Regions from separate parts of the Homo sapiens genome. Here all the other regions are linked to region 1. Evidence: promoter capture Hi-C in 16 types of primary human blood cells and fetal thymus (Javierre and others, 2016). All regions are on one chromosome and are shown on one strand. The core of a region is centred on a gene start or on the middle of the fragment in contact, and the rest is flanking DNA. Distances in the headings are between cores, read along the strand shown. Region 1 holds the start of CDX2 (caudal type homeobox 2). Region 2 overlaps PLUT (PDX1 associated lncRNA, upregulator of transcription). Region 3 overlaps PLUT (PDX1 associated lncRNA, upregulator of transcription).

Evidence for each region. The method cuts DNA at HindIII sites, captures the fragments that hold promoters and counts their contacts. A CHiCAGO score of 5 or more calls a contact.
Region 2: a fragment that was not itself captured here is called in contact with the fragment with the promoter of CDX2 in region 1 in 1 of 17 cell types (total B cells); the score reaches 5.7 in total B cells.
Region 3: a contact is called between a fragment that was not itself captured here and the fragment with the promoter of CDX2 in region 1, in 1 of 17 cell types (M2 macrophages). The highest score is 6.0, in M2 macrophages.

What each region holds. Positions count from the first base shown.
Region 1 is chr13:27,967,818-27,970,843 of GRCh38, forward strand. It overlaps CDX2 (caudal type homeobox 2), which reads right to left and starts at 1,498. Exons shown (of 3, transcript NM_001265.6): 1 at 649-1,498. The coding sequence starts at 1,189. RefSeq lists an enhancer at 733-1,424. The HindIII fragment of the contact is 4,126 bases long and covers 1-3,026 here.
Region 2 is chr13:27,822,960-27,825,985 of GRCh38, forward strand. All of the region lies in intron 3 of PLUT (PDX1 associated lncRNA, upregulator of transcription), which reads right to left. Among named protein-coding and RNA genes, the nearest start is that of GSX1, 32 kb to the left of the region's middle. RefSeq lists an enhancer at 1-440. The HindIII fragment of the contact is 4,198 bases long and covers 1-3,026 here.
Region 3 is chr13:27,839,456-27,842,481 of GRCh38, forward strand. The region is part of intron 2 of PLUT (PDX1 associated lncRNA, upregulator of transcription); the gene reads right to left. Among named protein-coding and RNA genes, the nearest start is that of GSX1, 48 kb to the left of the region's middle. The HindIII fragment of the contact is 7,230 bases long and covers 1-3,026 here.

The DNA of each region.
Region 1 (3,026 bases), core at 248-2,747:
GGTCAGAGGTTCAGAGACGGGGCGCGCCCCCGTCGCCTTAGCAGCTGGGGCTAGCACCTTCTTCCCAGCGACAGCAGCTCTCCCTGGTCTGCCTGCTCGCTGTACCTTGAATTGGCCCGAGTGGCCAAACCCGGTCCCACACACAGCCTAGCCATCCTCCGACCCCCCCAGGTCACTTCTCTTCTTAGATGGCTCAGATGGGGAAAGAGAGAGCGGAGATAAATGGCCTAGACCTAGCCCAAGAAGGTTCGAGCCTCCCTCTCTCCTCGGCGGCCAGGAGCCACGCAAGGAATGCATGCCGCAGCAAGTGCCGGAGGACGCGATTCTGCCGGCGTCCAGCAGTGCTCACGCCGACATTCCCCGGAGCTTCCCGAAGGTGTCCCGGGGTTGCGAATGAGGAGCTCTTGGAAAGAGGACGCCTGAACACGGTGTTGAGACTCAGAATATTCACTCCCAGGCTCAGTAGGTCAGAGAAGCCCCGACGGGCCAGAGGCCCCCGAATTTGTCTCCGGGCCGTGCCCCTCCTGGCGCCGAGCTCCCAGACAGCCCGGGACGCCCCTGTGCGCACTGGACGCGCGACGCGCAGCAGCCACTGGCTCGACCCGCGCCTTCCCAAGCACCCTCCGAAGGGGCGCAGCCTCTGCTTACCTTGGCTGCCGAGGGACTGCTGCGCCGGCTTCCGCATCCACTCGCACAGGTTCCGCCGCTGGCCGCCGGGAGACAGCTGCTCGGCGGCAGCGGTGGCGGCGGGCCCAGGAGGGCCGGGGTTGAGCGTTTGCAGCAGCCCAGAAGCGCAGGAAGGCGCGGCGGCCGGGTGGTGCGGGTGGTGATGCGGGTGGTGGTGCGGATGGTAGTCTGCGGGGCTGCTGTAGCCCATGGCTGCGGCCGGGGAGCCACCGTTGAGGCCGTGAGCCACGGCGTTGGCGGCGGCCGCGGCGCCTCCGGGCGCGTAGCCATTCCAGTCCTCCCGGAGTGGGGCGCCATACGCTGCCGGCCAGGATGGCCCCGGGGACTGCGCGCTGTCCAAGTTCGCTGCCGCTGCAGCTGCGGCCGCCACGTGGTAACCGCCGTAGTCCGGGTACTGCGGGGGGCTGACGAAGTTCTGCGGCGCCAGGTTGAGGCCGCCAGAGTGGCGCACGGAGCTAGGGTACATGCTCACGTCCTTGTCCAGGAGGTAGCTCACGTACATGGTGGCGAGGGTCCGGGAGCAGACCTCACCATGCTGCCTGGGGACCGACGCTGGAGGCTGCCGGGGGGCACGAAGGGAAAGGGGCGAGGGGACTCGAGGAGCGGCGGGTGGCTGCGCCCCAGCCCGCGGTGCTCCGCTGGCTCCTCGCGGCTCTTCTGCCTCCGAGGCGGTCCCTCCCTCTGGCCTGCCTCCTCCCTCCCTCCCTTTCTTCCTTCTTTCCTCCCACCTCCTTCCCACTAGGCTGCAGAGGCGGGGAAGACCCGCCACAGGCTGGCGTGCGGAGCCCCAGGCCGGCGGCCTTCCGTGATTAACGAGTGTTTACAAGACTCTATTAGTAATGACACAGACACCAATGGTTGGAGACGTCGAGGCGCAGCGCGCACTCTACGCACAACCCCTCGAAACATAATTTGCATTTTAAAAGATAAAGGGGAGGGAGGCTCGTGAGAGGGCAGCGACCTGACACAGCTAAATATTCAAACCTTTATTGTTAAGAGCTTCCTCCTTCCAACCTGGTGCACTTTAACCTCCAATCACAGGTTCAAAGAATGAAATCAAGAGACTTACAAAAGAGAGGGGAAGAGAAAAGGCTATCTTGGTAGGAATCTGAGCTTGGAGACAGGAGCAGTGGTTGTTTATGCATTTGCAGGGAAGAGGGCGGTCAAGAAACTCCTTCTGTCCCAAAGAGAAAAGAAAAGAGAACCATTGCTTTGATGAGAACGTTTCTGACCAACCTGGTAGGTGACAAGCAGAGAGCCCTAAGAGATGGGCCATTCCTTCCCGCCCTGTGCTCCTGGCCCGGACGACTGCAGCCCCAAACAACTGTCACCTCCAGTTATTTTCTTGCCCAAGGAAATTACTCGCCCTCCGCACAAGACAAATTATGATCCTAGATTCAGGCTGCATCTCTGACTTCATCTTACATTTGAAATTTGAGTTAAATTCAAGCGATTTATTGTTAAACGTTTACATTCAAGAATCAGAAGTTTTAAACTACAGAAGTAATGGGCATGTGGTAGAAGTTAGGCTAGTGGTTATTGGCGTGCATAACTGGAGGCGAGCTAGGGGATCGTTGGTAAAGCAGTTTCTTAGGCTGCTGGTTACACAGAATGTCAGTTTGTGAAAATTCATTGAGCTACACTTGTATGTTTATTATACTTAAATATAAGGAAAAGAGAATTTCTGCTAATGCTTACCTAGGTATTTATGTGTCTTACATCATACCTGTATCTTTAAAACTCTCTGTCCTTTACAAAGGGAAACGTTCTCCGAAGAAATTTATTTCTCATTTCCAGGAGATGATAAGGCAACTCAGGGCCATTATTAACGACTGCTAATGAAAAGCTCTGAGTTGAGAAAGGATCTCTCTTGGTTTGGGAAGCGCTGCGGCCAAGGGGCCTAGGGCTGGAAGTGGCCGTCTTGGGGACCGAAGCCGCGCAGCCCGGGATCGGGAGCTGCCCCGACAGGAGCGCGGAGGCGGCGAGATTCGGCCCCCGCGCGCGCCCAGCTCGGTTTCAGCAACCGCGTGGAGTGGGCCTGCGGCCGCCGTTCACCTCCTAATACAAGCCTTTGACAGCGCTGCCAGATTCGGGAATGAGGATCACTGCGGCGAGGCCCGGCGGGCTGGGCAGCCTGACTCGGCGGCTTTGAGCGCTCTCAGAACCCGCGGGCGCTCGCGGCACTCCTGGAGACCTGCACTTGTCTGTTCTCATTGTCAAGCGTTTCGCTCGGATATTTGTCACCATCGCCTTCATCCTGTCATTTCTAGGGTGCTCTCCAGTGTCCTTTATCTCCCTTGAGCCTCACATCCCCCTAGGATCTAGAACAAAATCTGGGA
Region 2 (3,026 bases), core at 249-2,748, 140 kb before region 1:
GCTGAATGCGCGCAGAAGCTCTTTGCGCACAGACATCTCTCCAAGGTGACCCATTTGGCACAGCTGAAATAAATAACCCCGCTCATGCCCAGAGAGCGGGGGAACTGTCAGAAACATTTACGCTAGAATATCTTGAAATTGCAAATCCTTTTATGGGGGAGGACGCTGCCGATGTGGGTTAAATGGACAATGACGCTGGTTAAGTTGGAGGGTCCTTTGGAGACGGACACGTGGCTTCTCAATGAAAGCTGCTCCGGGCTCGCGTGGCCGCCTTCGCCCTGCACACACTTCTCCTCCCAAATACTTGAAAATAGACAGAGAAAAACAAGCAACTCACAAACTCAGCCCTTGGCCCTGGCGGGGAAACAGAATTTCTTTGCACTTTTTCAGAGATATAGTTTTTTTTTTTTTTTCTTTTTAAAGGACCTGTTTGGCCTCTCCAAAGCAGAAAGCCACCGACTTTTTTTGTTTTGTTTTGGAAAAAATCCCCTCCTCCCCCCAGTCCCCTCTGGATCAAGGCTTTAAAAGGGGCACGTATAGAAGTGGCTTTGTCCGACTCTCTGCCTCAAGGCCCATTGGAGATTCTGGGGCAACTGGGGCCTGGGGAGATGGGGAGGGGTGATTAGTCTCCAAAACCCAAAAGTGCTTGCTGCTGCCCTGCTCCTGCCCTCAGTTCCCATTAGCTCGGTGGCTCAGAGAGAGCCCACATAACACAGGCAAACAAACAAGACCTCCAGTGGGTCTGGCTTTTTCCAGGACAGCAGAGACTCCCCTCTGATGAGGTTCATTAAGTCCTGAGTCTTTCTCTTTCTGGCCCCTAATTTTAAAAAGTAAAGTACTCACAGGGATTTTGAGAAGTGAAGGGAGACACACCCACATTTCTACATTGTGCTTCATCTATGGAATCTGGATATTTTTACCACCTCTTCCCCCAGTCTCATAGGGCTGCTGTACGGGACACCCCCATACCAGTGCCCACCCCCAAGCCCTGGGAATCTCAGACATTTATATTCATTCAACTGGTTTACCCTTAGGGATTCTCTCCTTTTCTTTTTATCCCCCAACCCCGTCCAACTCTTCCCCCAAAAAAAGTGAGGGGAAAGGAAGGCTTCTGGATTTTTATTCTTTGTTTGATTTCAGCTTCTGGCAGCCGCCACAGCTACAAGACAGATATCCCAGAGCCTGCTTCCTATTAATGGTCCTTTCTATCACACTCCTCCACCCTGCATTTTTTTTTCCTGAGTTACCACAGTGCTTTTTTTTTGTGCATAGGCAACTGAGGTGCAACTGAACTGATACCCGGAGTTTCTGGTAAATAAAAAGCAAGTAATTTATGAAAGGGACCTATGTCTTTGCACAGCCTCTGGCTTGTCGCTTGAATGAATGGCTTCCTTTGAAGTATGCCATGTCTTAGCTCATAAATGTAATCCAGCATCAAAGGTACCCAGGCCCGGTGATGCAAAACTGTTTACTCTTCATTTTGATGTATACAAAAAGATGCCCTTTATTTCCCTGGACTCCAGTGAAAGATGCAGAATAGAACCAGAGAAGCCAGCCATGGGTTGGCTTGAAAAGGCTGAGCTGGGAGAGCAGAGGCGGCTCGACTGACAAAACCCAAATGTGGACACGCATGGGTCACTGGCTAGGGGTGTTGATTGTGGAGAGCCATCCAGTCACGAAATCCATCTCGACAGTGTGTGCTGATCAATCATGACCTTGTAGCGGCAACATTTATCAGCCTGGAAGCCATGAACTTTGGTTTGCTCATTTTACTTGAACCTGACGCTACCCTTGGGGACCAATGCCACACATTCACTGTAGGATTGATGCAGAGGACACCCCAAAAGGGAAATAGGAGACTGAGTTTCCTTTGTTAAAGGGGATTATAGCCACTACGCCTGTTTAACTCTTTCCTCCCCTGGCCCTGGAACCCATCCAGCTGGGGTGGGTGTGGGTATGGGGGCTGCAGTTGGCCCTAAGCTAAACCTAACACTTTGATAACTTACATACTCAGCAAAGTAATGGCAGTTCCAGCTAGAACAGCCTGGAACGTCTCTCCATGCTGGGATTGGAGGGAAAAGTTCATTTTGGCTAATTTCAACTTTTCCACCATTAAATCTGCACCTGCAATGTCAGGGGTCACCAAATAATAAAAAGTGGCATCTTTGAAACTGCTCAGTCACGTGAAAAGGGCTGTAATTGAGTAGATTCATTCTCTGAAGCCCCATCAGAGACACACAGCTCAGGGCTGGGGGAGGGGGAGAGGTTCAGGACAGGGAGGCAGGGCCAGGAGCAAGCCAGGCTCTGGGAGGGACCCGGGAGCAATGGCAGCTTCTGATGTGGTCCCTTGCTTTTGAAATCTGAGACTAAAAATAAATAAAGATCCCACACATTCACTCCATACACACCCACATACCCACGCTGGCCTCTAGCCTTTGTGAGCAGTTTGACCTGATAAATGCGCTTGGCTGGCATCAAATAGTTCTGCTTTGACCGATCCCATTTAAATATGTGAATTAGTCATGAAGCAGGACACAGCTTGGTGAGCTTGCTAAATTGTTGGACTCTATTGAAGGAGAAGGGAGAAAAAAAGAGAAAGCCATTCAGCGTTCTCAATTAGATGGAGAGGTAAGGGCATCCCAGCCTCAGGCCACCTCTCCTCACTCACTCCCCAAGCCTGGTCTCAAGTGCAGCAGTAAAAGCCTCCCTAGGCCATGAGGCAAAGGTCACCTGGTACCATTTGGGATTATTGTTGCCAGCCTCATGGAATACAGCACCTGTGGCCTTCCATGGCACAGATTGTCTGGGCTGTCTTAGGAGGCCAGTGAGTTTCCAGGGAGGCAAGGGCCCGCTGGCACTGGGATCAATGGACATCCTATGCCTGGGCTGGCGGGGACTCCAGGTTGATGCCACCATGGGAAAGGCTAACCTGGAGCTTCTGTAGGAATAGTTCTTAACCCCAATGCCCACCACACCCTGCCCAGGAGAGAAAGGAGGAGGAAGGAAGAGAGATTGGTGAGCTCCTG
Region 3 (3,026 bases), core at 199-2,698, 130 kb before region 1:
GCCTGGGTGACAGAGTGAGACTCCTCAAAAATAAAATAAAATAAAATAAAATAAAATAAAATAAAATAAAATAAAATAAAATAAAAAAGTATGATTTGGTCAAGAACATCTACAGGGTATCCTCATTTGACCATGACATATTCAAGGTAGAAAATCCATCTCATTTATCTTTGTAACTGCCAAGCACCCAGCACGATGACATATAATAATAGGTGCTCAATAAATATTTGTTGGGTGAGTGCACAAATGGGTGCCCCAAAATACACTTTCATGCAAAAACAGACAATTTTGCAGTAAACAGACTCCAGCCTTTTATTTTGTTTGCTCTCAGCTCCTTTATACTTTAAGCTCATCTCACTCATTTCTACTAGGTTTCCTTCCGAAAACCCACAGCGGGCCTAGACCATTTTGGTCAAATTTGAGCTGATTGCATCACTTCCATGGACAAAATCTTAGAAAACTACTTATTCTATATACTGAATAAGATTCACATCCCTCTATACTCTTCCCATACACACAGAGAGACAACCTGTGTCATCAGCCAGGAAGGAAATATTTGCTGAGGTCTTAGCCTGTACTAGGGACTGTCAACAATGAAAAGAATGGTAAAATATTATTTCTGCCCTGAAAGAGTTTGAAATGTGAGTTTGTTATTTGAGGACTCTATGACGCATATTCTGTTCATTATATAATTGCTCACCTTTTCACTTCTCTTCAGCTGAGTCATGAATCTTCTTCGTTTCTGTTCCAGTGCTTTAGCTGCAGGGGGCAGTTTCTGGCCTGTGCACTATAGGCCACGGCTGATGCCACGTCATCCCCCAGGATTTTGGGAGAAAAGCCCTCGACTTCTCTCCAACTCTCTCCTTTTTCTCTAGGATGAGGCCAAAATACACATATTTGTTTTCACCTCTTATCCAAGTATATTGAAAGGATTAATGAGAGTGCTTTAAAGCCCTTTGATAAGGCATGGTATATTGCCAAGGTAATCAACGATTATGTTTTCTTATATGAAAGTTAAAATAAGCCACAGGAAGGAGTCTAGCCTTCCACGTTTACCGGCGTTTATTTTTGAACGCTGTTTTCTTTGCCATTCACCATTAGGAAAACAGAGTCTGAGTACTGTGACTTTAAGGGCCTATAAACCTATAAATCTTCCTCCCAGGTCAGGGTAAATAATTCTCCTTTCTACCATAATTGGGGAAGTCAGAAGTGTGCTCAGTGTGTGGCTTGAAAGATTCTTTGCCAAAATTCTACCCCAGTGGACAAGCCTGGGCTTTCATGAGGGGATCTCAACTTTCTCAGCCTCTTGGCAGCTGGCAATGCCGCCTTGAAATGCCTTCCTTTGCTTCCATGACATCCCTGGGGACCCCTTCTCCATATCCTTCAGGGGACCTTCCTCCGCAGCCCAGCCTCTGAATGCTGGTGGCCCCCAGTGCTCGGTCCAGGTCCTCTCCTTCCTCACCCTTCACTCTTCTTGGGTAAGCTCACATGCTCTCATAGCTGTAGAGACCTTTTAGAAGGGGCACATTCTCCTTGTTTCTATGTGGAAACCCTCTCTAGAATATTCCCTCAGCCCCTGGCCTCTTCATTTCACTTACTGGTGGTCTTTAGAGGAAGAATTGGGCAGGCTCCTCTGGGCCCCTCACTCTGCCTCAGAAGTCCATCCACCTACCTGCCCTCTGCCTTCTGCTGTCTGCCCTGGATGAGGGTGAAAGGAAAAGGCTGACTATTGTCCATCTGGGCCAGTGACCGGATGTGCAAGGCCACCTAATTTTGAGGGAAGTATTAACAGGCCCATCTGGACACAAATCTAGGGCCACAGCCTCTGATTGGCTTCATCAGCACGAACGCTGACATTTAATCTCCATCTGCCCACAGCTAGGTTTACCTCTCAGTTGGTTCTACGCTCAGTGGGGATGAAGGGTGCTCTGTTGACCCTCTCCCTTTCCCCCACCCCACACTATCTAGTTATCAGACAAAATGGACTTTGAGAAAAAAAATTACCAAAGAAGGATCTTTTATAAGGATAAAGGCATTAATATACTAAGAAGACAAAGAATCCTATGAGGGTGTGTGTCTTGTAACAGAGCTTAAATATCCCTGAGGAAAAAATTGACAGAAATAATCCACAATCATAGATGAATATGAATATGAATATCTTAGGATAGGGCTGCTAGAAAAAAATCAAGAAAAAGATAGATGGACTGAACAACACTATTAACCACTTTTATATAATTGCTATTTATAGAATCTATATCTACCAGTTACAACTGCAGAATACACATTCTCTTCAAGCACATGTGGTTTGTTGACCAAAATAGACCATATGCTGGACCATAAAACAAGGTTCAATAAATTGAAGAGGATTTATATTTTATAGAGCCTATTCTCTGATTAAAACAGAATTACATAGAAATTAAAAACAATAAGATAAGTAGACACCAAATATTTGGAAATGAAACAATTCACTTCTAGAGAATCAATAGGTCAAAGAAGAAATCATGACGGCAATTAGAAAATACTTGGAACTAAATGATAATGAAAAAGGTAAAAATTTGTGGAATGTAAGCAAACAGTGGTTAGAGAGAAAGTTATACCTTTAAGTGCTTATACTGGGTCAGGTGGTGGGAGGGTGTACAAAAACAGAGACTTAAGAGTCCACAATAAGAAACTAGAAAAAGAAGAGCAAAGTGAGCCCAAAGTAACTAGAAGAAAGGGAATAATAAAGATAAGAGCAGAAAAAGAACACAGAACTGAGAAAATTAGCAAAGAGAATGAAGTTTGACAAGAGTGCCAAGACAATTTAATGAGAAAAATGTCTTTTCAATTAGCTGTGCTGGGACAACTGGATATCCACATGCAAGAGAAAGAAGCTGAGCCACTGCCTCACACCATATACAAAACATAAGCCAAAATGGAGCAGTGTCTTCAAGGTAAATCCATAAAATGCCTAAAAGAAAATATAGGAGTAAATCCTTGGGTCCTTAGGCAATGGCTTCTTAGATATGACACAAAAGTGACAAAAG